Linked DNA regions of Homo sapiens: regions 2, 3, 4, 5, 6 and 7 are each linked to region 1. The links are contacts of gene promoters, found by promoter capture Hi-C in blood cells and fetal thymus (Javierre and others, 2016). All regions are on one chromosome and are shown on one strand. Each heading gives the region's core, a stretch centred on a gene start or on the middle of the fragment in contact. The rest is flanking DNA. Distances are from core to core; before and after follow the strand shown.

Region 1 (3,696 bases), core at 1,141-3,640:
AGAACTCTCAACACTCTCCAGCCCCTTGGACCCAGAATAAGGTCCAAACTCCTGAGCCGGACATGCAAGCCCTTTCTGTGACACTCAGCTGATGTGGGGCAGGGGTGGAGATGAACTCAAGCAACATTGTTCAGTGGAGACTCTGCAGACATTGGAGCAGGGGGCTTTTTCCTGACTGCTACTTTGCACAATGTCCCCTCTACTGAAAAAGGGCTTTTCCCTCTTCTCTCCTGGAAAATTCTGACTCACCCTTCAATGCCCAGCTCACATGCCCTCTCCTCTGGGAAGCCTTTCCTTTTCCCTCCACAATTCAAGTGTCTAAAGTTCTGGCCTCCAAGGCCCTCTTAGCTATTCTCATCCCTCTGCAGCATAACTGGAATCCATGTCTCTGTCTCCCACCAGGCTGGGACCTCCCTTGGCAGAGGTCCAATCCCCGTCTCTGAGCCCAGTGCCCAGTACAGAACCAAGGACTGAGGTGTCCGTGAAGGTGCGTCAAGCAACTCATGAGAGACATGTGACAGCAAGATGAGAGAAAACCAAAGATGTAACCACAAAAGTACCTTCCAGAAACTGGCCTAACCTTTGGTCCAGTCACCACCCCCTCCTTTGCCCAGGCCTGGTCTTGCATATCAAAAACCCTGAAAATCTTAAACATCAGTCAAGAAAGCCCCTACAGAGGTCACTGGACTGGACTGAGGCTTTAGCCATTCTAGAAATTGTTCAAACAACCAAAGCAAAAGAAAAAGCACAAAACAAAAACAAAACAAAACAAAACAAAAATCTGTTCCTGGTTAGCCTTCAGGTCAAAAGCTCACAGAATCTCCTAGGACCTGAGAAGAAGGCTTCATGGTGTTACTCAACCTCTCCCTGCTCCAGGTCAGAGCAGCCCCTCCCAGCCTCTGCTCAGCACCTAAGAGCTGAGGAGCACATTTCCTCCCCTCTCTGACCCTCGAAGCCAGCCTCCCTCCTTTGACTCCCCTGGGAGCCAGAGCTTCCTTGGGGGTACCAGGCTGCCCCTCCCGACACCAGGTGGTGCCCTCCATCTCTGGCCCCTCAGGTGTCTGAATGGCAGCATCTCTCTAGGTATTTTTTAACTGAACTTCTACCCAAGGCAACCCTGGGAAGAAGTGCTTCACCCTACTCCGGGAGGCCCATGTCTGGGCCACCAAACTGTCTCCTGGAAAGAAAAAGAAAAAAGGGTTTCACTGGTAAAAAGCAGCTGCTCTTCCTCAAAGGATAAGGAGGAGAGAGAAGGGAAGAAAGCAGGAGCAGCTATTCCTCCTCAGGAACCCACCACACACACCTATCCCTGCGGGGCCACCCCTCACAAACCTGTGAGGGCCGCACTCCACCCCAAGCTTTCTGGAAGGAAGGGCACCAAGCTGACACATCAGGGTCTCCGGTTTGCAAGGGCCAGGGCCGTAAGAGGGGGTTGGGGAGGGTATCCCAGGGCCCAGCACACTGAGAATAGGAAAAGCCCATTCCAAGCAATGGTGGCCTCGGGCCCCCCAGTTTGTGCCACCTCCCTCCCTCCAGTGCACCCGCGCCCAGCCCACGCTTGAGCTGGAGGGCCCCACGAAAAGCCAGCAAGCGAATGTACTAGGTACTGGGTGCGAATGCCCTCTTACCTGAAAGGGGAGGGAGCAGGATCACTTCGACATACAATTGATGAAGGGAGGGGATTAATGCCCAGAGAGGAATAGCTACTCGCCCAAGGTCACACAGTGAGGCCCAGGAGGCCCAGGATGCACCCAGATCTCCCGACTCCCAGCCCTGGGCTCGCAAGTCCAGGGTTCTCGAAAGGCCAGGGTGCAGACACCGCCCCCCAAAGACAGTCACACGCCCCCAACCCCCTTACCTCCCGGACCCCGGTGGGCCAGAGCCGGCTGCTGGGCGGGGCGCTCAGGCCGGGCAGGACGAGGCTGGGCCCGGCTAGGTCAGGGCTGGTCCTCTGCTCCCCCCAGGGTGGGGACGCCCTCAGCCAGGTCCCAGACGGAAGAGATGCTGCTTCCACTGCAAAATCCAGTCTTCCCACCCCGCCTGGCACAAGCCTCTATGTATCCAGGAAGCCCGACTCTGCGGCGCGGCCCCGGGGCTGCGGGATGAAGCATGGGGAGGGGCGAGGTGCGTGAAATGGGGCGGAGCCGGAGCGGGGGCCACCCCGCGAGCTGCCACTCTGACCGCGTCCCCTTTAAGGCCAGCCGGCCGGACACCGGCGGGGACGAGGCGGGGCGCAGAGCAACTCGCTGCAATGCCTCCTGGGAGATGGAGTTCGCTCTCGACGCGCCGAGCTGCGAGGAGCCCAGAGAGAACTACCAGTCCCGGAAGGCAGCGCACAGACCCCGGACCGCCACGCCCCTGGGCTGGGCTCCTACCCTCCGCCCCCCTCGCAAAGCTGCGCTGGCCGCTCGCGGAGGGAGAGGCTGCAGAGCGAGGGCAGGAGGTGGGTGCGGCACGGCCGGGGTCGCGGGGCTCGGGGACTACCGGCGAGGGTACGTGGGCCCACTGAGCACCTGTCTTACCATGAGACTAATCTATCCCAGCCTCGCCATTCCCATCTGTGAAATGGGGATGGCATCGCCTGTGGTGCGGGGGAGGGGGCGCGTTTCGGAGCGAGGTGAGCCGAAGTGGGCAGAGCTCTTAGAGGGGCGGGGCTGTTGGGAGAGCAAGGGCGGATGGTGATAGTCGGAAAAGCCCGGATAATGAGGGTCGGGACTGTGGGAGGAGTCCTTGGTGGGTGGGGCAAGGAGAGGCGGGATCTCTAGGTGGGGGTGGGGCACTTGTCAGGTCGGAGTGGGGGCTGTAGGGCTGGGGAGTGGGTGCGGAACAAGCCGATGAGGCCAGCCTGGGTGAGATTGGGGAAGGAAGGGCGGAGACACAGATGACAGGGAACTTGCCCCGCTCTGGAGAGCCCTGGGCCGGCCGCGCTGTGGCGGCGTGGGCAAAAGCCTGTGATGCATAGAACACCTCCCTTTACTGACTGGAAATAAAGAGTCCATCCCCGAGTTCAGTGCGGCACACCAGTGATCTCATTGACCTCCCACGCCCTGAAAAGTAGAGGCGTCACTATAGCGGTTGACAGGTGAGGAATGTGAGGCTCAGAAAAGCGAAGGGACTTGCCTAAAACCACTCAGGACTCCTTACTTCAAAGACCTTGCTTTTCTCCCTGCACTCGGGGAGGCAGAGGTTTAGCTTGGCGTGGGAGGCAGGAAAGAAAAGTTTTGATGCCCCGACCTTCGCAAATTGTCTGGCAGGACCAGTCCCCCCAACCCTTCCGAATGACAGCCTGTAAGGCAGCCCTCCTATAGTACTGTGAGGATGAAATGAGATGGATTTGAAAGCACGGTGTTTATAAATTACTGTTTGGAGGAGACATAGGAAGAGAGCGGTTTGAAATGGGGTGCTGGTGCCGGAGGAAAAGCACAAGGTGAAGCGTGAGAGTGAGCCGAGAAGGTGAAGGAAAGTTCTGGAAGGGGCTGGGGGATGGTAGTGGTTGTTGGAGGTCTACGCCAGATGAAAGAATACCTTGCCGTGCCAGATTCCGTGGTCTCCTTCTTCCAGCCCACCTTTCTCTCCTCCTGCCTTTTGCGCAGCTCATTCTGGGGTCCCTGTGTCTAGGAAGCACCTTTTCTCTCCTCCCTATGGGTTGTGATGGTAATAGAGCAGCCTTCGGATTTCTTAGAGATATGGACTGGG
Region 2 (3,817 bases), core at 960-3,459, 170 kb after region 1:
GTGTGCCTGTGAGGGTGTTCCCAATGGAGATTAACATTTGAGTCAGTGGTCTGGGAAAGGATGGCCCACCCTTAATCTGGGTGGGCACAATCTAATCAGCTGCCAGCATGGCTAGAACATAAAGCAGGCAGAAAAATGTGAAAAGAGAGACTGGCCTAGCCTCCCAGCCTACATCTTTTTCCCGTGCTGGATGCTTCCTGCCTTCAAACATCAGACTCCAAGTTCTTCATTTTTGGAACTCGGACTGGCTCTCCTTGCTTCTCAGCCTGCCAATGGCCTGTTATGGGACCTTGTGATTGTGTGAGTTAATACTTAATAAACTCCCCTTTATATATATATATATATATATATATATATATATATATACACACACACACACACACACACACACACACACACGTGTGTATATATGTGTGTGTGTATATATACACACATATGTATATATATAACGGGGAGTTAAAAAAGTAATGGAATATATATATACAAATATATGTGTATGTATATATACCATTAGTTTTATTTTATTATTATTGTTTTTTGAGATGGGATTACACTCTTGTTGCCCAGGCTGGAGTGCAATGGCTTGATCTCAGCTCACTGCAACCTCCGTCTCCTAGGTTCAAGCGATTCTTCTGCCTCAGCCTCCCAAGTAGCTGGGATTACAGGTGCCCACCACCACGCCCAGCTAATTTTTTGTATTTTGTAGAGATGGGGTTTCGCCATGTTAGTCAGGCTGGTCTCGAACTCCTAACCTCAGGTGATCCACCTGCCATGGCCTCCCAAAGTGCTGAGATTACAGGCGTGAGCAACCGTGTCCAACCCTATTCCGTTAGTTCTGTCCCTCTGTAGAACCCTGACTAATAGAGTCATTTCTGGTAAATGCTAATGTTAGACAGAAACGAAACTTAACATTAGCCAACCACAAGCAGCCAACTAACATACAATTAAGTAGCTGTGGACTTTTCAACAAAGGAAACCAAAAAAGGAGATTTTTTAACTGTAACCAATTTTATATATATATATGTATATATATATATATGTGTGTGTGTGTGTGTGTGTGTGTGTGTGTGTGTATATATATATATATTTTTTTTTTTTTTTTTTGAGAGGGAATCTTTGTTGCCCAGGCTGGAGTTCAGTGGTGCAATCTTAGCTCACTACAATCTCTGCCTCCCGGGTTCCAGCGATTCTCCTGCCTCAGCGTCCACAGTATCTGGGATTACAGGCACATGCCATCACACCCAGCTAATTTTTGTATTTTCAGTAGAGACGGGGTTTCACCATTTTGGTCAGGCTGGTCTCGAACTTCTGACCTCAAATGATCTGTCCGCTTTGGCCTCCCAAAGTGCTAGGATTACAGGCGTGAGCCACCATGCCTGTCCCCAACAAAATATCTTGCTTCCATATTCTCCCCATAAATATTTGCCTCTGATGCATTGTCATGGGAACACTCAACCTCTTTCCATCTGGTGTTCCCCGATTCAAGAATTGCCTGTTACTCAAGTATACTCTTAAAAAAGTTTTGTTGATCCTCAGACTTTACATTTTAACACCACCCTACCTCCTAGAGCGCCAGTTTTCTGATCTGTAAAATGGGTGTTGCGGATCTTTCACTCCCTAGGACTGTAGGGAATAGAAAGTCTCTGGTTGTCAATGTCAGTCAATGTCAATTCCTTCTGCCTCCCCCATTTCACTACTGGGAACTCCGAGGCCCAGAGAGGGGCATTAACTAATGTCAACTTTAATAACGGGATTCAAGCAATATGTTTAAGTAATTTATTTAAGCGTAAAAGAAAATATAGGAAGAGGCAAGTTGCCGTGGCTCAGGCCTGTAATCCCACCACTTTGGGAGGCTGAGGTGGGAGGATCACTTGAGCCCAGGAGGTTGAGGTTGCAGTGAGCCTGATCCGCCACTGCACTTCAGCCTGAGCGATAGAGTGAGACCCTGTCTCTGAAAAAAAAAAAAGAAAGAAAGAAAGAAAAGGAAGGAAATTAATCTATATCAAAAGGTCAGTCCTTAAGGGGTCTGCTCCATTTCTCGGTCTCCAAAGTCAGCCCTTCTCAGGGCCTAACAACTTTTAGAAGCCCCAAATAGACAGACTGTCCATTTCTTTCTGCACTTGGCCCAGTCTCACTGCAAGCCACGCCTGGCTCAGCCCCGTCCCGCCTTGAGCCTCGGTGTTCCCACCTAGGGGCGGGCAGCCAGGGGCACTTCCGCTGGCCCAAGTGATCTGCATGTGGCAGGGCTGCGCAGTGGAGCGGCCAGTGGGCAGGATGACGAGCCAGACCCCTCTGCCCCAGTCCCCCCGGCCCAGGCGGCCAACGGTAAGTGCGAGGCTAGCTGCGTCCCCGCGCCTCTGTCCTCCGCCTCTTCCCTCCGCCTCTTCCCTCCCTTCCAGTTTCTCCTGCCCGTCCCTCCCAGACGCCCGAGCCCCCTGCTTCTGGCGCGCTGTCCCCCTTCACCTCGGGCTGGTCGCTCTCTTCAATCTTTGCCGTCCCTCCTGCTGGGATCACTCTCCTTTCGCGCCTCGGTGTCCCTTTCTGGTTTGGCTCTGTCCAGCCTTTCCTCTTTGCCCTTTTGCTTCCTCCCTCTACATTGGGTCTTTAGTTCCTTTCCCTTGTCTCTTCCCCACCGGCTTGTCCTAGCCCACGACTCCTCCTCTGCCCCACCTTCTCCCTTGCTCCCGGTGGGAGAAGCCCATCCAACCAGCTCGGCCAGAGGATCTTTCCCTCACCTGCAGCCCTCTCCAGCCTGCCCCTGCCCCTTGGCTGGGTCTTCAGCCTGCCCCTGCCCTCTGGCTGGGTCCCAAATCCCTCTGCTTGCCTGCCTGGTCCCCAGCTTGGGTGAGGGGAGTTGGGGAGGAGGATGGGGAAAAGGCTGCGTGCACTCTGGGAGCAGAACATTCGGGTTCTCTCCTGCACTGAGAGTCATCCTGAAGACCTGGAGGAAGAGAAAGCAGATCCAGCAGCAGGGCAGCGTGGCTCTCTCTAATAGGGCCATGATCACGTCATTGTTGTTGGCTATTGACAAAGCCACATGCCTAGTGCCAGGACCACCCTAGGTGTTCCATAAATGCCTGAATGAATTACTGGGGAAGTGTAAGGCACTGTGCATGATGCCAGGTAGGGCAAGATTGGCCTTGAACAGAATACTAGATGCTCCTGTAAATCAGAGGATATTCCCCTCCCTTAGGAGCCTCACAGAGTTTTTGTTTGTTTGTTTGTTTGTTAAAATAGAGATGGGGTCTCGCCATGTTGGTGAGACCCAGGCTGGTCTCAAACTCTTAGGCTCAGGCAATCCTCCTACCTCAGCCTCCCAAAGTGCTGGGATTACAGGCATGAAACACAGCACTTGGCCAGGAACCTCACAGTCAATGAAGAAACAGGGAATTGCAAGGGAAGAACTGCCAGGCCAGTGGAAGTATAGTAGTGTAGGACTTTCTGGGATCACAGTGAGACAACCCACCCCGAAGGACTCCCAGAGGAATTCATCTGAAGGATGAGTGGGGTCAGAGAAAGGAGTGCGGATGGCCAAGTGAGTGAGCTTCTGGAGGTGAGGGGGCTTGCCCAGCTCTGGATTGGAGGAGTGGGGAGCAGCAGGCAGTTCTGGTAGTTGATTGCGAGGGGTGAAGTAGCAGCCTAGTTGCAAAGGGCCTCTAAACCTTGTTATGGAGTCTGCTGTTTATCTGGAAGGGAATGAAAAGTTACTCAAGTGTTTAATGCAGGGAGTGACAGGATCAGATTTGTACTTCAGAAAACGTACTCTCAGCCAGGCGTGGTAGCTCATGCCTGTAGTTCCAGCACTTTGGGAGGCAGA
Region 3 (3,987 bases), core at 219-2,718, 240 kb before region 1:
TTTGATAGGAATTATTAATATCTTCCTCGAAGTCACAGACCTTTGATTTTTCAAGGTAATAATCTGAAAATAGATACATGGTGAGCCTGTGTAACAAAGGTTTTTTTTCTGCAACAGGTGCCCATGTACACAGCTGGAACTGTATTTTGCCGAACCTGAGCCATCTACAACTGTGATTCTTTGATTCATAACTTTCTCTACACACTAGCTCAATAAGAATTGCTGGTTTGCCATTTTCCTAGGAACCTAGTTTTGAAAAATCTTGGAAAGAAGATAATTCTTCCCGTTTATGATATATGAACTACTCCCCTCTGTATTTCTCCTGATTCCTAGTAATTTACCTATTGTAGCTTCACTGAATAGGAACTCACTATCTTAATAGAGATCTTTTATTTATTTATTTATTTATTTATTTATTTAGAGACAGGGTCTTACTCTCTCACTCAGGCTAGAGTGCAGTGACGTGATCACAGCTCACTGCAGCCTCAGCCTCCCAGGCTCAAGTGATCCTTCTGCCTCAGCCTCCCACGTAGCTGGGACCACAGGCACAAGCCACCACACCCAGCTAATTTTTGTATTTTTTGTAGAGACAGGGTTTTGCCATGTTGCCCAGGCTGGTCTTGAACTCCTGGGCTCAAGCAGTCCTCCCACTTTGGCCTCTGAAAGGGCAGGGATTACAGGCATGAGCCACTGTGCCTAGCCTTATTTTTTGGAAACGGTCTTGCTTTGTCGCTCAGGCTTAAGTGCAGTGATGTGTACATGGCTCAATGCAGCCTCGACCTCCTGGGCCCAAGCAATCCTCAGCCTCCCATGTAGCTGGGATCACAGGTATGTGCCACCACATCTAGCTAATTTTTTATAGAGACAGGGTCTCACTTTGTTGCCCAGGCTGGTCTTAAACTCATGGGCTCAAGTAGTCCGCTTCCCTCAGCCTCCCAAAGTGCTGGGATTACAAGTTTGAGCCACCACACCCAGCCAAGAAGTTTTTCTCTCCTCAGAGAGCTCTGGTTGTTAGAAACTTCTACCTGAGAATAAGGAAACCTGTCTCTCTGTATCATGCAAATGGAATAAAATAGAAACACAACTCCTCCTGTTTTCCAGTATAGAACCTCTAACTGCTCAGGTGGACTGTCTGTCCTTCCCTGAAGTGCTGCACCCCTCTGTTATTCATCAGGTCGTGTGTCCTTATAATGGGCATTTCTATTGGTACATAAAAGCTTCCCTCTCCTGTTCACTCAGCTGCTACCCAAGTTTCCTGTGATACCAATCTTAGAAGAGCTTTCAAGTCTCCACTGCCTCCTTCCTATCTGCCTTACAGCCTGTGGTGGTTGCCGAAGAACTTTAATTACAGTGTCAGAGTGTTCAGGGACAGTCCCAACTCCCTTCATGTGAGGATTGCAGAAATGGGCTTGGATCGTATACAGACAGCGTTATGAGGCATTGCTGAAGAACAGTAAGTTCTTACACAGAAGTTGTCAACTAATATATGCATTTTCTTTGCCATACCCCAAGAGGCAGGAGCTGATTCCTATATAGTTAGGATATAGCTGACCAATGTTCTCTTTAAATGTAATTTCCATCTGCCACATTTTAAATTACAGGTTTTTGCATCAGGAAACTGTTGGGTCCAATTATTTGGTGCCTTGGAAAGGGCATTAAATGCATAGTGAGAAGATCCTGGTTTAATCTGACATTCCACTTACTAGGTGTAGAAGCTTGAGCAAGTTAATTAATCTTTGAGTCTGTATACCCAGCTGCAAAATGAGGATAATGCTTATCTTACAGAGTGTTGTGAAAGCAATGAAGATTGTGTGAAAGGGTTTCATAAACTGACAAGCACTGCACAAATGTAAGGTCCCCTAAGGAAAACCTTTTCAAAACTCAAAATCTATATGAACAGAGATACTTATTCATGTTGGGTGGAATGTTTTACAGCCATTAAAAATTGTAAGAGAAAATATATTGAAAAATACAATCTAAAATGGTGAGTTTGCAATTACAACAGTGTAAAACCTGTGTACATAGACTAGAATATGGAAAAAATGGATTACAGGGTAGTGGAATTGAGTGACTTTTGCTTTAAAGACTCTTAGGTATATTAGGTGTATTCAGTTTAGTTCAATAAACTTTTATTGAGCTCTCACTCTCCCAATCCCCGTGCTAGATTCTATGAGTGCTGAGACAAATAGGACATACTCCCTGCTCTCAGAGACTCCCATTCTGTACAGTCTTGTCAAAGTTTACTGTGTATGTGAATCACTGCGGAGCGTATTAAAAATTCACATTATCTTACTCCCACCAGAAGATCTGATTCAGTAGGTCTGTGATGGAACTAGCTCACAATTTACATTGTTTTAAACAGTCACCCTGAGTAATTCTAGTGTAAGTATTTTAATTCTGTACTGAGAAACCTGCAGTGAGATTTTAATATTTTTACACTAAACGGTAAGTAATAATTATACAAATCTGCTCATTGAAGAAGTTACCTGTTTTCTCTGCATGCTTGAGCTGGTTTTTATGTGTCTCTATCAAGGATGGGAAGGCCAGCCTGCAGTGATACCCCTTGGAACCCTTGCAGTGTAGAAACTACCACACCTCTCAACTTTTATCTCTTTTCCTCACTCCATTTCTCCCCACCACTTCTCCTAATGTTTTCTTCTTTCTATGCAAGTGTTAATCTCCCACTCTGGTTCCTTCTATGCCTAGTACTGTATCAACATCCAGGTGCTTCCCCTTCCTTTCTCCACCCCACCCCCCAGCCAGATATGTCAATTGTATTGAAAACAACTTACATCTAGTTTACTAAGTACAAACTTGTGCTGGTTAATGCTTCTCAAAAAGTAGGAGTGGGCTGTTTGTTGAGATCAACAATCATTTTTTTAAAAATCCGATATGGAAATTTTTGTGTCAAGTTTCACTGTCATTTAGTTCTTGACTGATTTTCTTCTGATGGGTTAGTAGCTCTCAACAGAAGATTTTAAAAGTCCCCTGCTCAGGTACCTGTCCTGCCGATAGAGCTGGGGTGTACCCTGCACCCTGACTCAACATTGCTTGTCTCCACATGCCTGTAAATGGGCTTGGGTGGCTTTCTCAGGCTACACACCTGTCACTTCTTAGTCACCCAGAATCAAAATATTAACAGCTCTGATCACATTTTCTGAACCTATGAGGCTTTATTTCAAGAGTGGTGACACTCCAAAATGCAGCTAGGATTTCCGCATTTTCACGTGTTAGTGTTGAAATCATTTTTACTTCAGGAAACCAAGGGTTGGACAATGGCTTCCAGACTTTCTCCTTTCGTTATGCTCCTTCAGCGCCTTATGCAAATACCGGTTGTCTTATGCTGCCATTCGTCTCCTCTGCCAGAATGTGAGGTCCGCGACAGCAGGGATAAGAATGCATTCATTTTTATATCTGCAGTGCCTTGGAGAGTGTCTGACACATAGTGGGCACTCATTTAGAAACCACCAATTGAATCATTAAGGTGACCAAAAACAGGGTGGGGGAAATACGTCCATCAGACAACAGGGAAATATTTCTTAAAAAAAAAATTTCCCAAAACTAGCTTTTCCCTCCTTATGTGTCTGAAATATCTCATAAAATTTTAAACTATCCCTTTCAGCACAAATCTGCCTGGAGCTGTTTCCTGAACACAGGACCAAAAGGCAGGAATCAAAAGTAGTAATGAGTTTAGTTATCTGTCTGTTACTGAAGGTGACTTCTAGGGCATCCTCCTGGCATTGCTTCTGGAATACAGTGACTTAGACTTATTCGGAAGAACATCTCTATGCTGTTCATCACATCGCCAGCACCTAGCCCTGTGCCTGTGCATAGTAAATGCTCAGTAAGTATTGTTGAATGATTGTATTAAATTGAGAAGAAATTCAGAAGCTAGTCCCAAATGAATTTAATTGCTCAGATTTTCAGTTAGTGGTTTTCCCCAACTTGCTCCCTTAATCTAGACAATTTTACTGCCTCCAAATTGAA
Region 4 (3,660 bases), core at 614-3,113, 200 kb after region 1:
CTAATTTTTGTATTTTTTTTTTTTTTTTGTAGAGACAGGGCTTTGCTATGTTGCACAGGCTGATCTCGAATTCCTGGGCTCAAGCAATCCACCCTCCTTGGGCTTCCAAATTGCTGAGATTACAGGTGTGAACCACCACACTCAGCCCCCAAATTGTTAAGCTTATGGAAAAGTAGATAAAATACTATAGTGACCTACCAAATATCCATTCCTAGAATTTAACAGTTATTAGTATTTTGCCAAATTTGCTCTATTTTTTCGCTGAATTTTATTTTATTTTGTTATTATTTTTTTTGAGATGAGTCTCACTCTGTTGCCCAGGCTGGAGTGTAATAGCACTCCTGGGTTCAAGCAGTTCTCCTGCCTCAGCCTCCCAAGTAGCTGGGACTACAGGAGTGCGCCATCACGCTCAGCTAATTCTGTATTTTTAGTAGAGATGGGGTTTCACCATGTTGGCCAGGCTAGTCTCGAATTCCAGACCTCGGGTGATCCACCTGCCTCGGCCTCCCAAAGTGCTGGGATTACAGGTGTGAGCCACCGCGCCCAGCCTTGTTTTGTTGAATTTTTAAAAAGATATGTCATTTTTTTCTAATTATTTCATTACATATCTATTAAAAAGGGATACCTTTTTGTTGTTTTCTTTTTTTTTCTCACTGCTATGAGAAAGTAGAGGGACTTTTTATTTTTTAACATAGCCACCTAACCCTAATGAATAAAGTTAAGTAATTCTTTAATGTCATCTAAGAATTAGTTGATATTTAGATTTCTGTAGTTGTTCTCCCAGTACCTTTTTATAGTTGATGTATTCAAATCAAAATGCAAACCAGGTCCCCACATGGCATTCAGTCTTTTCAAAAATCTACAACAGTTACTATTTTGGTGACATTGATTTGATGAAGAAACTGAGACAGTTCTTTTGTAAAATGTCTTGTTTTCTGAATTCATTTACTTCTTTAAGGATTAACTTGTTCCTCTGTTCTCTGTATTTACTATGAACTGAAAGTTAGATCTATAGGCTTTGTTAGATTTAAGTTAAGCATATTTTTGACAATTTTAAGACTATGTTATAAATGGTGACTTGTACTTCATATTGCAGCTATCAGCATGCAAATGTCACCGTTACATTGAGGTCTTCCTTTACCCTTCTGTTTCATATCGAAACTGCCTATCCCCACCCCGCACTTCCTAGTCCCCTTCCTTGATTTTGTTTTCTCCATAGTAATTACCATCTTCTAATATTCTGTATAATTTCTTGTTAATTATGTTCCTTGTCCATTTCCCCATGCAGGAACATAAGCTTCCCTTGAGCAGGGATTTTTATGTTTTTTAATTGTTGTTTCTACAGAATCAAGAACAGTGCCTGGTAAAATAAATATTTGTTGAATGAATAAATGAATTAATTGATGCTTTTGTGATACATTTTACTCAACAAATATATATCAGACTTTGTTCTGGGCACTGGACGGTGTCCATTAGCACAATTGTTAAGTCTTATGCGTTGCAATTGTTTGCCATATGTGTCTATCTCCTTCAGACTTTGAGCTCCGTAAATTCAGAGGCTGCAGATCCATTAGTCTCTATCCCAGTGCCTGGCAGGTTCCTAGGAACATTGAAGGGACATTATAAATGTTTCACTTATGTTTTACGTGAATAAAATCAGGCTTTCTTTTTTTGTTGTTCTTTTCTTTAAAAAATTTTTTAAAAAATCGTATCTATCTATCTAGAGACTGGGTTATGAGACTGGCTAATTTTTATATTTTTGATAGAGATGAGGTTTCACCATGTTACCAAGGTTGGTCTCAAACTCCTGGGCTCAAGCGATTCACCTACCTCAGCCTCCCAAAGTGCTGGGATTACAGGCATGAACCACTGTGCCTGGCATCTTTTTGAGTGTTGCTCTGTTGCCCAATCTAGAGTGCAATGGCGTGATCACTGCCCACTGAAGTCTGGACTCCCAGGCTCAAGCCATCCTCCCACCTCAGCCTCCTGAGGAGCTGGGACCACAGGCACATGCCACCACTCCCGGCTAATTTTTTCTTTTTAATTTTTTTTGTAGAGATGGAGTCTCTCTGTGTTGCCCAGGCTGGTCGCGAATTCCTGAGCTCAAGCAACCCTCCTGCTTGGCCCTCCCAAAGGATTGGGATTACAGACGTGAGCTACCACATCTGACCAAAATCAGGATTTCTGTTCTCAAGAAGTTTTCGATCTCTCAGTGATCTATTTTCCGTTAGTCTTTTTCTTAGCAATATCTACCATTATTATTATATTAAAGATCTGTTACCAATAATCATCTATAATAATACTTCTTAGAGCAGTTAACATTATATTGCTTGTTAGAGTTTGAAAGCACTTTCCATATGTAATATTTTATTTAATCCTGGTGACAGCACCATTGTTATCTCTAAATTCCAGATATGGAACTAAGCTTAGAGCTGTTTAGTATCCAAGGTCACCCAGCTAGTAAATGGAAGGTATGGATTTGAACTTGGGTTTTTTTTTTAAAAAACCTTTTGTTATGGAACATTTCAGATATATACTATGTAAGTAAAGAGAATAGTTTAATTAATTCCCATGTACCCATTACCTGGCTTCAAAAATTATCATTTTGTGGCCAAACTTGTTTCATTTTCCCTCTTCCCCAATCCACTTCTACTTCTTTACCCTCACCTTCTCCACCAGATTCTTATGAAAATAAATTCCTGGCATCATATTATTTTAATCATAAATTTTGATTTATATCTTTAAGTGGTGAAGACTCTTTTTTTATTATTATACTTTAGGTTCTAGGGCACATGTGCACAACGTGCAGGTTTGTTACATGTGTATACATGTGCCATGTTGGCTTGCTGCACCCATTAACTCATCATTTACTTTAGGTATTTCTCCTAATGCTATCCCTCCCCCAGCCCCCCACTCCCCAACAGGCCCCGGTGTGTGATGTTTCCCGCCCTGTGTCCAAGTGTTCTCACTGTTCAATTCCCACCTATGAGTGAGAACATGCGGTGTTTGGTTTTCTGTCCTTGTGATAGTTTGCTGAGAAGGATGGTTTTCAGCTTCATCCATTTCCCTGCGAAGGACATGAACGCATCCTTTTTTATGGCTGCATAGTATTCCATGGTGTATATGTGCCACATTTTCTTAATCCAGTCTATCGTTGGTGGACATTTGGGTTACTTCCAAGTCTTTGCTCTTGTGAATAGTGCCGCAATAAACATACGTGCACATGTATCTTTATAGTAGCATGATTTATAATCCTTTGGGTATATACCCAGTAATGGGATTGCTGGGTCAAATGGTATTTCTAGTTCTAGATCCTTGAGGAATTGCCGCACTCTCTTCCACAATGGTTGAACTAATTTACACTCCCAACAGTGTAAAAGTGTTCCTATTTCTCCACATCCTCTCCAGCATCTGTTGTTGCCTGACTTTTTAATGATTGCCATTCTAACTGATGTGAGATGGTATCTCATTGTGGTTTTGATTTGCATTTCTCTGATGACCAGTGATGGTGAGCATTTTTTCATGTGTCTGTTGGCTGCATAAATGTGGCGAAGACTCTTAAAAAACATAATCTTTTGTCATGTCTAAAAGCAAAATTTAACTCAGGTGTTCTGATGTCAGATCTCAAGCACTTTAACCAGTCCATGCTGCATGCATTAA
Region 5 (3,844 bases), core at 547-3,046, 220 kb before region 1:
CATGGTATGGATGTACCACACAGTCTGTTTATTTAACCATTCACCCGTTAGTTCTCATTTACATTTCCCTTATGGCTAATGATGTTGAACATCTTTTCATATGATTATTTGCCATCTGTATATCCTCTTTGGTCAAATGTCTTCAAGAATTTGAGTATTTTATATATAGGTTTTTTTTTTTTGAGATGGAGTTTTGCTCTTGTTACCCAGGCTGGAGTGCAATGGCATGATCTCGGCTCCCCAGGTTCAAGTGATTCTCTTTGTTGTTGTTGTTGTTGTTGTTGTTGTTTTTAGACAGATTCTCACTCTGTCACCCAGGCTGGAGTGCGGTGGCACAGTCTTGGCTCACTGCAACCTCTGCCTCCCAGGTTCAAGCGATTCTCCTGCCTCAGCCTCCTGAGTAGCTGGGACTACAGGTGTGCGCCACCATGCCCAGCTCATTTTTGTATTTTTAGTAGAGACAGGGTTTCACCATGTTGGCCAGGATGGTCTCAATCTCTTGACCTCGTGATCCGCCCACCTTGGCCTCCCAAAGTGCTGGGATTACAGGCGTGAGCCACTGCGCCGGCTTTCCTGGTTTTTTTTTTTCTACACATTTTACAGGTTTATGTTTTTCCTTTAAGTCCGTGATCCACTGTGAGTTAATTTTCATGTAAGATGTGAGACTTAGATTGAGGTTCTTTTGTTGTTGTCATTGTTGTTGACAAAGCCATCCTACTTCCATTGAATTGCTTTTCCGTCTTTGTCAAAAATCAGTTGGACGTATTTGTGTGGGTCTGTTTCTGTTGTCTCTGTTTTGGTCCATTTTTCCATGTGTCTGTCCCTCTGCAAATACCATAGAATCTTGCCAACTCTAGCTATATTGTAAGTCTTGAAATCTGGTAGCCTGATTCCTCTACTTTATTCTTATTTTTCAAAGTGTTTTAGCTATTCTATTATCTTTACCTTTCAATACAAATTTTAGAATAATCTTGTTTATGCAAAAAAAAGAAAGTCTTGCTGAGATTTTAATAGGAAGTGCATTAATCCTGTGTACCAATTTGGGAAGAAATTACAGCTTTACTATATTAAATCTTCCAGTCCATGAATTTATTTTACATTTATTTATATATGTCTTTCTTCCTTCGTTTATTTTCTTCTCCTTCCACCATCCCCCCCCCCAACCACCCCCACCAGAATCTTGCTGTGTCACACAGGCTGGCGACAGTGGCACAATCATGGCTCACTGCAGCCTCAAATTCCTGGGCTCAGGTGATCCTACTGTCTCAGCCTCCCAAGTAATTGGGACGACAGCTGCGTACTGCTGTGCCTGGCTAATTTTTTTTTTTATTATTTGTAGAGACAGGGTCTCCCTGCGTTGCCCAGGCTGGTCTCACACTCCGGAGCTTAAGCAGTCCTCCCACCTTGGCTTCCCAGAGTGCTGCGATTATAGGTGTGAACCACCATGTCTAGCCTTCTGGAAGAGATGGTGTAGAACTGGTATAATTCTTTAAACCTTTGGTAGAATTCTCCAGATTAAACCATCTGGATCTGGAAATGTCTTTGTTAGGAATTTTTTACATTTTTAATCCAATTTCTTTAATAGATACGGGGTTCTTCAAATTATCTACTTCATATTGGCTGAATTATAGAAGTTTACATTTTTCAACAAATTGGTCCATTTTGTCTAAGTTGTTACATACATGTGAGTGGAGTTACAGTATCCTGTATTATGCTTTCAGTGTCTGCAGGGTCTGTAGTGGGTCCACTGCTTTATTTTTTTAACCCTTATTCTTGCATACTGACATTGCTTCATTATTATTTTTTGTTTGTTTTTTGAGACAGCATGTCACTCTGTCACCTGGGGTGGAGTGCAATGGCACGATCTCAGCTCACTACAACCTCCACCTCCCAGGTTCCAGCAGTTCTCCTGCCTCAGCCTCCCGAGCAGCTGGGATTGCAGGCATGTGCCACAATGCCCAGCTGATTTTTGTATTTTTAGTAGAGACAGGGTTTCACCATATTGGCCAGGCTGGTCTCAAACTCCTGACCTTAAGTGATCTGCCTGCTTTGGCCTCCCAAAGTGCTGCAATTACAGGCATGAGCCGCTGCACCTGGCCTCTGATTTTTTTATATAGTAGTTTATTCATTTGAGACTTTTCCTCTTATTTAATGTATTCATTTACTGCTATGAATTTCCCTCTCAGCACTGCTTTAGCTGTGTCCCACTAATTTTGATAAATTGCATTTTCAATTTTTATTTGCTCAGTATATATATATTTTTTTTACTTTCCTTGAGACTTTCCTCTTTGACCATGGATTATTTACAAGTACATTGTTTAGTTTCCAAATGTTTGGAGATTTTCCCATTATTTTTCTGTTTCTGTCTTTTAGTTGGAATTCATTGTGGGAGTAGAGTAAGTTCTATTTGATTTCAATTATTTTTAACTTGTCAAGGTTTATTTTATTGCTGAAAATGTGGTCTATCTTGCTTTAGGTTCCATGGGTACTTTGAAAAGAATGTTTATTCTGCTATTATTGGGTAAAGTATTCCATAAATGTCAATTATATCTTTTTGATTGATAGTGATATATATAATTCTTTTATATCCTTGCTGATTTTTCTATCTAGTTCTTCTGTCGATTGTTGAGAGACAGGGGTTGAAGTTTCCAACTATAATTGTGAATATTTCTGTTTCTCATTTCACTTATATCTGTTTTTGTTTCACATATTTTATTTTTTTTATTATTTTTTTGGAGATGGAGTTCCGCTGTTGTTGCCCAGGCTGGAGGTGCAATAGCATGATCTCAGCTCTCCGCAACCTCCACCTCCTGGGTGCAAGCAATTCTCCTGCCTCAGCCTCCCAAGTAGTTGGGATTACAGGCATGCGCCACCACACCCGGCTAATTTTGTATTTTTAATAGAGACAGGGTTTCTCCATGTTGGCCAGACTGGTCTCGAACTCCTGACCTCAGGTCATCCGCCTGCCTCGGCCTCCCAAAGTGCTGGGATTACAGACATGAGCCACCGCACCCAGCCCTGTTGTTCAATATATACACATTTAGAATTGCAACATCTTCTTGGTGGCATGACCCTTTTATCTTTATATAATACCTGCTGAGTCTCTGGTAATTTCTTTTGCTCTGAGGTCTACTTGTTATCTGATATATTATACAAGTATCTGAGGGCTACTTGATATATTATAGCCTATATCTGATGATATAGTTATTCTTGCTTTCCTTTTATTGATATTCACATGATACATCTTTTCCATCAATTTACTTTCAACCTACCCATATCATTGTATTTGAAGTGATATCTTATAGGTGGCATATTGTTGGGGTGTATTAATCCGTTCTCGCACTGCTGTAAAGAACTACCTGAGACTGGGTAATTTATCAAGAAAAGAGGTTTAATTGGCCCACAGTTCCACAAGCTGTACAGGAAGCATGGCTGGGGAGGCCTCAGGAAACTTACAGTCATGGCGGAAGGTGAGGGAGAAGCAGGCACATCTTACATGGCTGGAGCAGGAGGAAGAGAGTGAGGGGAGAGGTACTACACACTTCTAAATAACCAGATCTCACAATAACTCACTCACTATCATGAGAACAGCACCAAAGGGGAACTCCACCTCCATAATCCAATCATTTCCCATCAGGCCCCACCTCCAATATTTGGGGATGACAATTTGACCTCAGATTTGGGCAGGGACACATACCCAAACCATATCATGGGGCATGTTTTTAATCCACTGTGCTGATTTATGTCTTAATTGGTATATTTAAATTTACACTTAATATAATTTCTAATATGCTAGAGCTTAGTTCTGCCACTTTATTTTTTGTTTGTGTTCTGTTTTTGTTTT
Region 6 (3,783 bases), core at 137-2,636, 190 kb before region 1:
GGCAATGTTATAGAGGCCTTTGAATGCTGTGTTTTATTTGCATTTTATTCTACAGCTATTAGGGAGTCTTTGTCATCCCAATTTTCAAATGAGGCCTTAGAAATGTTCTCATTCCTGTAATCCCAGCACTTTGGGAGGCCGAGGCAGGCGGATCACGCGGTCAAGAGATTGAGACCATCCTGGCCAACGTGGTGAAACCCCTGTCTCTACTAAAAATACAAAAATTAGCTGGGCATGGTGGCACGCACCTGTAGTCCCAGCTACTTGGGAGGCTGAGGCAGAATCACTTGAACCCGGGAGGCGGAGGTTGCAGTGAGCTGAGATCACACCACTGCATTTCAGCCTGGCGACAGAGCGAGACTTCGTCTCAAAAAAAAAAAAAGTTCTCATTCAATGTCATTCACAATTATTTTATATTCCACTAAGCAGGGGAATAAATACCTTATTGAAAGAGTGCTTGTAGACTTATGCGGACATGGATTTATAGTCCGGCACTCTCTTGCATACACAAAAAAGAAAAGTATAAATGAAACATTGGTAAAGAAATTTCTAAAACTACTTCATAATCAATTCTAGCTTTCAATCACTTTTTAATTCATTGTCCATATTTGCCTACATAATAACTGCCCTGCATGCCATCAAGAGTATTGATGGTGCAACATTTCTTAAAAATGATTCAACATTGTCTTCAAATTTTTCTTTCAGGTTACTGACACGTATTTTGCAAGTTTCAACTTTGGCACTTTCTTGGTCTTACTAGAAGATCTTAGCAAAAAGTCTCACAACTACTGAAATTCATGTTTCTCCTTAAAATGGCCCTTGATTTATTTGTTCAGGGTTGTATTTGTTCAGTCACAATGACAGACATGACAACCAAGTACACTCTTGTGCAGGCAATGACAGCTGTGTCCTGACTGCAGCTTAACTGTAAGACACTCTCAACAGTAGGAAACATTCTGATTTTGATGTTAAAATAGAACTGAATTTGAATTAATGAAATATAGTAGCTTGTTGAAAATCATAGGATGGTGAAGGTATCAGGACCCATTTGCTCACTGTTATCAGTCCAGCCAGTAGGAAATCTGTCTTGTCGGTCAACTGTGTGAGAAAACCCTTTCCTAAAAAGAAGCTTTACCTTATCTATTTCCCTGTTATTTTGAATTTACACTTACTAAGGAGGAAACCAAGGCAAGAAAGACAGCCAAGGACATTTTAATTGACTCAAGAGATACTTACTTTTAACCAAGTCTTTTATGTTCTGGAAAGTGCCTTGAGATCTTTTAATAATCTTGCCAAATCAGCATTTCAATTTGGTACTCAGGATGAGTGATTAGAAGTCATGACAAATCAGCTAGCTTCTCTGTGGAGAATAGCTGAAGCCTCTGGAGAACCACAGTCTTAAATTAGTCTGAAGAAGCGTGAGGTCACAACAGGAAGTAATGTGAACAGGAGGAGTTACTGATCAGATGGTTCAGAGAGCTGGATGATCTTAATAACTTGATTCCAATTTTCCTTGTATGTAACGAACACTTATTGATTGCTTCTCTTAAATTCATCTCCTTTCTCCTTCCTTGCAACACCTTAATTTGTGTTCAGACATCTGTGTGATTCTGGGGAAGCTGGCTCCATCTATCCTAAGCTTCAGGTTTGGCTAGTTAGCACATTGCATTCCCTCAGCCACCATGATTATTTTGGATTGGGCATGTGATCTAAGCAGGTATAGTCTGAGTGTATTCTAGTTGGTATGGTAAGTGGATATAAGGCCTCTATTCTGCCATATGATTTGGTTAAATATAAGAAGTGTCTATGGGGCACAGTGGCTCGTGGTTATAATCCCAACTACTTGGGAGATGGAGGCAGGAGGATTGCTTGAGGCCAGGAGTTCAAGACAAGCCTGAGCATTAAGACTCCTGTTTCAAAGAAACAAAACAAAAGAACAAAAAGAAAAAAGTGACTATGAATCCTGTACTCTGATCCTAGGCTTACAAAGAAGTTCACACCATCACAGATATGCAGTCAGGGTGAAGGGAGAAAGAGAGAACCAATGCCTTCACATCAGGGTTGCTATGAGAATTGAATGGGATCTTGACTGTAAAGCACCTTGCAGAAAAGTCTGACATAAAATATAAATTCATGTTTTAAGGACTTTTGGAATTGCTAATGACAAAAACCAACTCAGGTAAATTTAAGCAAGAAATAGAAATGTAATGGTATGATAATAAGGAAGCTCAGAAAATGGAAGAAAATTTTCTAGATACCAGGCGACCTTGGGCACACAATCATATTTTAATGGCCCAAGGGCGCTCATTGTATCTCATACTGCTTGTCTGTGTTTGGCTTTCTTTTTTCCTGTAGGCAAGCTGTCTATAGGTGATAAGAAAGGAGATCACTGGCAACCCTCAGTCCTCTCATCTCTGTAACCTAAAAGGCAAGGTCCTTACTTTTAGAACTCCAAATTTAAAATCCTAGGGAAGGATACTGACAGTTGGGGCCATAATTCTACCCCTGGACTGAGCCATTATGGCCAGGGAATTGGAAACTACGGTAGTCAGACTAGAGCTACCTGTGCCTCACCTGACACTCACGTGGTAGGTGTGGAGAGGGATGAGTGACAGCTTCGCTCAGAATCATGTTTGCATCTCGTGGAAAGCAATTTCCTCCATGAGAAAGGGAAGCAGTGCTGGATAGTAAAACAAGTATCCAGTTATTCAGTACTTGCTTTTTGTCTGAAGCAGATTCATCCTCCTTATCTCTGGCAGGGTGGAGGGAAAATAAGAAAGTAGGAGAGAGAGTGAAGTGTAAATTTTATTGTGTACTTAACTACGTAGTAAGTAAACTTTGCAGGTATGAGCCGATTGCATCTCATTTAATCTTTGCTACAATACTGTGCGATAGATAATATTCTCATGTCAGCCAGAAACAAGCTCAAGTTAAGAAACTAGCCCAGGACCATATAAAGCTGAGTCCACTTGTCTCCAAAGCATAATAGGCTTTTCTGCTGCTACCACGTTCTTCAAAATAAAGTGAGTTAAACTTGCCTGGTCAACATGCCGGTCCCCTGTACTCCCTGCTACCGACTCAATGTTTGTGTCCCCCCAAAACCATGTATTGAAATTCTGATCCCCAGTGTGATAGAATTTGGAGATGGGGCCTTTGGGAAAATTGAGTCATGAGAGTAGAGCCCTCATGATGGGATTAGTGTCTTTATAAGAAGTGAACACACACAAGAGAACTTCCATCCAGTCGCCTTTTTCTGCCATGTGAGGACACAGCAAGAAGGCAGCCCTCTGTAAAGCTGGAAAAGGGCCGTCACCAGACACTGGACCTACTAGTTCCTTCATCCTGGACTTCCCAGCCTCCAGAACTGTGAGAAATGTCTGTGTATTAGGCTGTTCTTGCAGTGCTAGAAATAAATACCTGAGACTGGATAATTTAAAATGAAAATAGATTTAATTGGTTTACAGTTCTGCAGGCTTTACCAGAAGCATGTTGCTGGCATCTGCTCAGCTTCTGGTGAAGCCTCAGGGAGCTTTCAGTCATGGCAGGAGATGAAAGGGGAAGAGGCACATCACACAGCGAAAGCAGGGGCAAGCTTGAGAGAGTCGGGGTGGCAGGAGGTGCCATACACTTTTAAATGAACAGCTCTTACAAGACTCACAGCACCAAGCCATGAGGGATCCACTCCCATGATCTAAACACCTTCCACCAAGCCCCACCTCCCGTACTAAGGATTACAATTCAGCATGAGATTTGGGCGGGGACAAATATCCCAACTGTCAGTCT
Region 7 (4,052 bases), core at 1,160-3,659, 170 kb before region 1:
TTCTCAGTACTTTGGGAGGCGGAGGTGGGAGGATAGCTTGAGGCCAGGAATTCCAGAAGCAATGTGGAAAGGACACTAGGGAATGTAGGTTCTAGTCTTTATCCAAGCTCTTTGACTTCAAGCAAATCACATTTTTCTCCTGGACCTTACATTCTTTTTTCTCATTGCCCTTAGTACCTTCTGTCTGACTTCAACCCCACATCTGCTTGACAAGAATTAACTCAAATATCTCTTCTTAACACCTACCTGATTCTGGCATACAGTAAGTGCTTATAAATATATGTTAAATGGGTGAGAACCTTTCCCTTAGGTCTGTGGGTACTTTCACTGGGCTTGTATATCTACCACTCCATTTAAAACTCTACTTACAGCTTTTTAAGAAAATGTATTTCTAAGCCAGGCACAGTGGCTCATGCCTACATTTCCAGCAGTTTGGGAGGCTGAGGTGGGTGGATTTTGTGCTTGGAAATTCGAGACCAGTCTAGGCAACGTGGCAAAACCCCATCTCTACAAAAAATACAAAAATTAGCAGGGTCATAGTAGTGCGTGCCTATAGTCCCAACTACTTGGGAGGCTGAAGTGAGAGGATTGCCTAAGCCTGGGAGGTGAAGACTGCAGTGAGCTGTGGGTGTCCCACTGCACTTCAGCCTTGGCAACAAAGTGAGACCCTGTCTCAAAAAAAAAAAAAAAAGAAAATATATTTCTATTTATCTTTTACTAGGTTGTGGTCCCCTGGAAAGCAGACATTTTTATTCATCTGTGTATTCTCAGTACTTAACACAGTACCTGGTATGTAATAGGTGCTTCATAGATGTTGGAGAGAATACATATTTTTAAGAGGAGTATTTTAGTAGATGACTCATAAAACATTTATTGAGCACCTACTATATACCAGGCAGTGTGGTAGGTATGGGAAGTGATACAAATGTGTGTAAGAGACCAACATCTTCCCTTGAGGAATTTAGAGATTAATTGAAGCATAAGCACACAGAATTGCTGACAAAGCCATTAGTGTTAGTCTCTAGCTATGTGGTTGCTTATGCAGCTCATGTGTAACTTCTCATTTCTGTGTTTGAATACTGGTCACCAGAACCAGACAGGAAGAATGTCTTTCCGTTCTGATTAATTTTCTTAGGAATTAAGTAAGAAATTGTGTATCTGATATGGTGATCTAGTTCCAAGGAAGGTTAACTTGAGTTGGCAAAAGGAGCCTCATCTTTTTTATATTAGTTACTGGGAGGTTGTTTAAAAATCTCCCATTATGTAATGGACTTGTCACTTTCTACTTATAGTAATGGCAATTCTTGCTTTATATATTTCGAGGCCATATTACTAGGTACACATACTTTTTAGAAGTACATGACTTCTGGGCCTTTGAACCTCTTATCTTTGTGAAGTGCCTGACCCTCTTTGCCTTTTTACCTTAATATCTTTTTTTGCTTGGTAGTCATATACCTGCAGCAGCATTCTTTTGAGTAATGTATATGCTTTATGTAATTTTTTCCATCCTTTGATTTCAACCTACCTGTGCTCTTGTATTTTAGGTGTATCTTTAAAAAACAGTATGTAGCTAGATTATGTTTTTGTTTAGTCTGGAAAGTCTTTCTTTTAACTTGAGAATTTAGTTAATTCACATTTATTGTGGTTAATACAGTGAGACAGGCTTTATCTTTTAAATGGTGAATTAAATTGATTTACATTTATTGTGATTATGGAAATGTTTTGATTTGTTGCAACCGTGTAGTGTTGTACCTTACCTTACACTGAAATTTTCTGTTGTTTTTTTTAATCTTACCTTTTGGATTGAACATTTTGTTTCCTTTTTCTAATTTCCTTTTTATCCCTCTGCTTATTTGGAAGTTACACTCTAACTACTTCATTAGAAGTTACTCTAGGTATTTTATTATGCATACTTATTAAAATGTTTAAATTTAATAGATAATACATGCACATGGCTTAAACACAAAATATTTGAAAAGTATACTGTGAGAAGTCTCTTCTCTATCCTTCTGCCACCATCTGCTCATTTCTAATAACCTGGTGTATTTATCTTTATAATGTATGTTGGCCTGTTAACATATTAGATATGTTAGAATATATCTAATAGAGATTATAAATACGCATACAAATACGTATTAACTCCTCCATTTATACAAATAAAGGACAACTTTCTCTATACTTGCTTTTTTTTTTTTTACTTCATAATATATCTTGATGCTCTTTCCATATTGATACATGAACAGTTTTCTTCCCCATGCCTTTTTAAAAAGCAGCTGAGTGGTAGTACATCAATTGGTGAAGGCATAACTAAGTCTTTACTGATGAGCATTTACATTGTTTTCAATATTACTCTTTTAAATAGATCCCAAAATGCACATATGTCATTGTGCACATGTTAGTTTATCTCTAGGATAAGTTTCTGGCATTGCCTGGTTAAAGGATATATACTCTTACACTTTTGGTAGATTATATGTAATTTTGCCACATTGCTCTCCAGAGGGTTTGTAACTATTTACACTCCTGCCTCTTTTTCCACAGTCTTGCCAAGATGATTACCAAAGTTCTGTATGTTTGCCAGTCTAATGAGAGAAAAGTAATATTTAAGTGTATTTTTAATTTGTATTCCTTTTGTAAGTCAACATTGATCTTTTCACATGTTTAAAAATCATTTATAGTTATTTGTCTGTGAACATTTGCTTATTTTTCTGCAGGGTTAATGTTCTTACTGATTTGTAGGAGCTCTTTATGTAGGAGATTAGCCCTTTGTAATAGGAATTGTGAATTTTAGCGAAATATTTATGACTTCTAACCCAAGTTACCATTTTTTTCCTTGCTTTGTCCATAGGCATTTGTGTGGGTGTGGGGGGGTGTGTCCGTGTTGCCATGCAGGATTTGAAAATAGTTTTCATTTTTAGATTTATAGGTTTCTGTGTAGTCACTATAACAATCATTGTTATGGTTTCTGGATTTTAGGTAATAGACTTTCCCTCTTATAGGCTATAAAAGAAATGTACTATGTTTTATAATTTCATTTTATATTACATTTAAATCTGATCCAGTTGGAATTTTTCCTGATCTATGCTTAGAGGTACAGGTTCAACTTTGTTTCAGCTTTATTTTTAACAGTGTCATTAAATCTTTCCCATGGATTTGAGGTGCTACTTCTATCATAATCTAAGCATTTTATGCATTAGTAACCATTTGTGAACTCACTAAGTATTAAATTCCATTAGTCTGTATACTTATAAAATATATATAGCAATACGCTTTGTTTTGATTAATGAGGTGTGTTTTACCATATGGTTGTAATAGTGTCCTCTGCTATTCTTGTTTTTCTTTATGAACTTTACAATTGTATTCTCTTATTTAGAACAAATATGGTGGGTTTTTTGTTGTTGTTGTTGTTGTTGTTTTTCTTTGAGACGAAGTTTTGCTCTGTTGCCCAGGTTGGACTGCAGTGACAAGATCTTGGCTCACTGCAACTGCCGCCTCCTAAGTTCAAGCGATTCTCCAGCCTCAGCCTCCTGAGTAGCTGGGATTAACAGGGACATGCTACCACCCCCAGCTAATTTTTGTATTTTTAGTACAGACAGGTTTTCGCCATGTTGGCCAGGCTGGTCTCAAACTCCTGACCTCAGGCGATCCACCTGCCTCAGCCTCCCAAAGTGCTGTGATTACAGGCATGAGCCACCACACCTGGCCAAAAAAATGGTGTTTTTACTGAGTTTATGTTAAATTAATAAATTCATTTAGGGAGATTTGAGCTCTTTATCAGCACATACATTTTAATTTTTTAATTTGGCCTAAAGTATAGCAGTATATTTACTCTCTGTATTAGTTTCTTTTTTCTTTCCTCCTCCTCTTCTTCTTTTTTTTTTTTTTAAATACAGAAACAGGGCTTCGTCATATTGTCCAGGCTGGTCTCAAGTACTGTGCCAGCTTTGGCCTCCCAAAATGCTAGGATCACAGGCTTGAGCTATCATGCCAGGCCCTTAGTAGTTTCTTGTAGTTGCTGTAACAAATGACTACAAATTTGTTGGCTTAAGACAATA

What was found. The method cuts DNA at HindIII sites, captures the fragments that hold promoters and counts their contacts. A CHiCAGO score of 5 or more calls a contact.
Region 2: a contact is called between the fragment with the promoter of KCTD14 here and the fragment with the promoter of KCTD21 in region 1, in 2 of 17 cell types (M0 macrophages and endothelial precursors). The highest score is 6.1, in M0 macrophages.
Region 3: a fragment that was not itself captured here is called in contact with the fragment with the promoter of KCTD21 in region 1 in 17 of 17 cell types (fetal thymus, activated CD4 T cells, naive CD4 T cells and 14 more); the score reaches 20.5 in fetal thymus.
Region 4: a contact is called between a fragment that was not itself captured here and the fragment with the promoter of KCTD21 in region 1, in 9 of 17 cell types (naive CD4 T cells, activated CD4 T cells, total B cells and 6 more). The highest score is 7.3, in naive CD4 T cells.
Region 5: a contact is called between a fragment that was not itself captured here and the fragment with the promoter of KCTD21 in region 1, in 13 of 17 cell types (neutrophils, naive CD4 T cells, activated CD4 T cells and 10 more). The highest score is 14.3, in neutrophils.
Region 6: a contact is called between a fragment that was not itself captured here and the fragment with the promoter of KCTD21 in region 1, in 10 of 17 cell types (activated CD4 T cells, neutrophils, naive B cells and 7 more). The highest score is 10.0, in activated CD4 T cells.
Region 7: a contact is called between a fragment that was not itself captured here and the fragment with the promoter of KCTD21 in region 1, in 4 of 17 cell types (neutrophils, fetal thymus, non-activated CD4 T cells and 1 more). The highest score is 8.4, in neutrophils.

Annotation. Positions count from the first base shown.
Region 1 is chr11:78,187,320-78,191,015 of GRCh38, reverse strand. It overlaps KCTD21 (potassium channel tetramerization domain containing 21), which reads left to right and starts at 2,390. Exons shown (of 2, transcript NM_001029859.3): 1 at 2,390-2,443. USP35 (ubiquitin specific peptidase 35) reads right to left here and starts at 2,097. Exons shown (of 11, transcript NM_020798.4): 1 at 1,859-2,097. RefSeq lists silencers at 1,744-1,903, 2,334-2,673. The HindIII fragment of the contact is 4,363 bases long and covers 1,361-3,696 here.
Region 2 is chr11:78,021,668-78,025,484 of GRCh38, reverse strand. KCTD14 (potassium channel tetramerization domain containing 14) reads left to right here and starts at 2,209. Exons shown (of 2, transcript NM_023930.4): 1 at 2,209-2,325. The coding sequence starts at 2,236. All of the region lies in intron 2 of NDUFC2-KCTD14 (NDUFC2-KCTD14 readthrough), which reads left to right. LOC124902723 (a long non-coding RNA gene) reads right to left here and starts at 2,942. Exons shown (of 2, transcript XR_007062795.1): 1 at 2,464-2,942; 2 at 1,763-1,951. RefSeq lists enhancers at 1,715-2,282, 2,283-2,852, 2,853-3,420. The HindIII fragment of the contact is 5,224 bases long and covers 1-3,817 here.
Region 3 is chr11:78,427,166-78,431,152 of GRCh38, reverse strand. LINC02728 (long intergenic non-protein coding RNA 2728) reads left to right here and starts at 1,317. Exons shown (of 4, transcript NR_120564.1): 1 at 1,317-1,453; 2 at 3,623-3,844. RefSeq lists an enhancer at 3,839-3,987. The HindIII fragment of the contact is 498 bases long and covers 1,220-1,717 here.
Region 4 is chr11:77,986,095-77,989,754 of GRCh38, reverse strand. The region is part of intron 2 of INTS4 (integrator complex subunit 4); the gene reads left to right. Among named protein-coding and RNA genes, the nearest start is that of INTS4, 6.7 kb to the left of the region's middle. The HindIII fragment of the contact is 1,128 bases long and covers 1,300-2,427 here.
Region 5 is chr11:78,408,477-78,412,320 of GRCh38, reverse strand. The region is part of intron 1 of GAB2 (GRB2 associated binding protein 2); the gene reads left to right. Among named protein-coding and RNA genes, the nearest start is that of GAB2, 7.4 kb to the left of the region's middle. The HindIII fragment of the contact is 9,698 bases long and covers 1-3,844 here.
Region 6 is chr11:78,376,813-78,380,595 of GRCh38, reverse strand. All of the region lies in intron 1 of GAB2 (GRB2 associated binding protein 2), which reads left to right. Among named protein-coding and RNA genes, the nearest start is that of GAB2, 39 kb to the left of the region's middle. The HindIII fragment of the contact is 510 bases long and covers 1,132-1,641 here.
Region 7 is chr11:78,360,226-78,364,277 of GRCh38, reverse strand. The region is part of intron 1 of GAB2 (GRB2 associated binding protein 2); the gene reads left to right. Among named protein-coding and RNA genes, the nearest start is that of GAB2, 56 kb to the left of the region's middle. The HindIII fragment of the contact is 6,004 bases long and covers 1-4,052 here.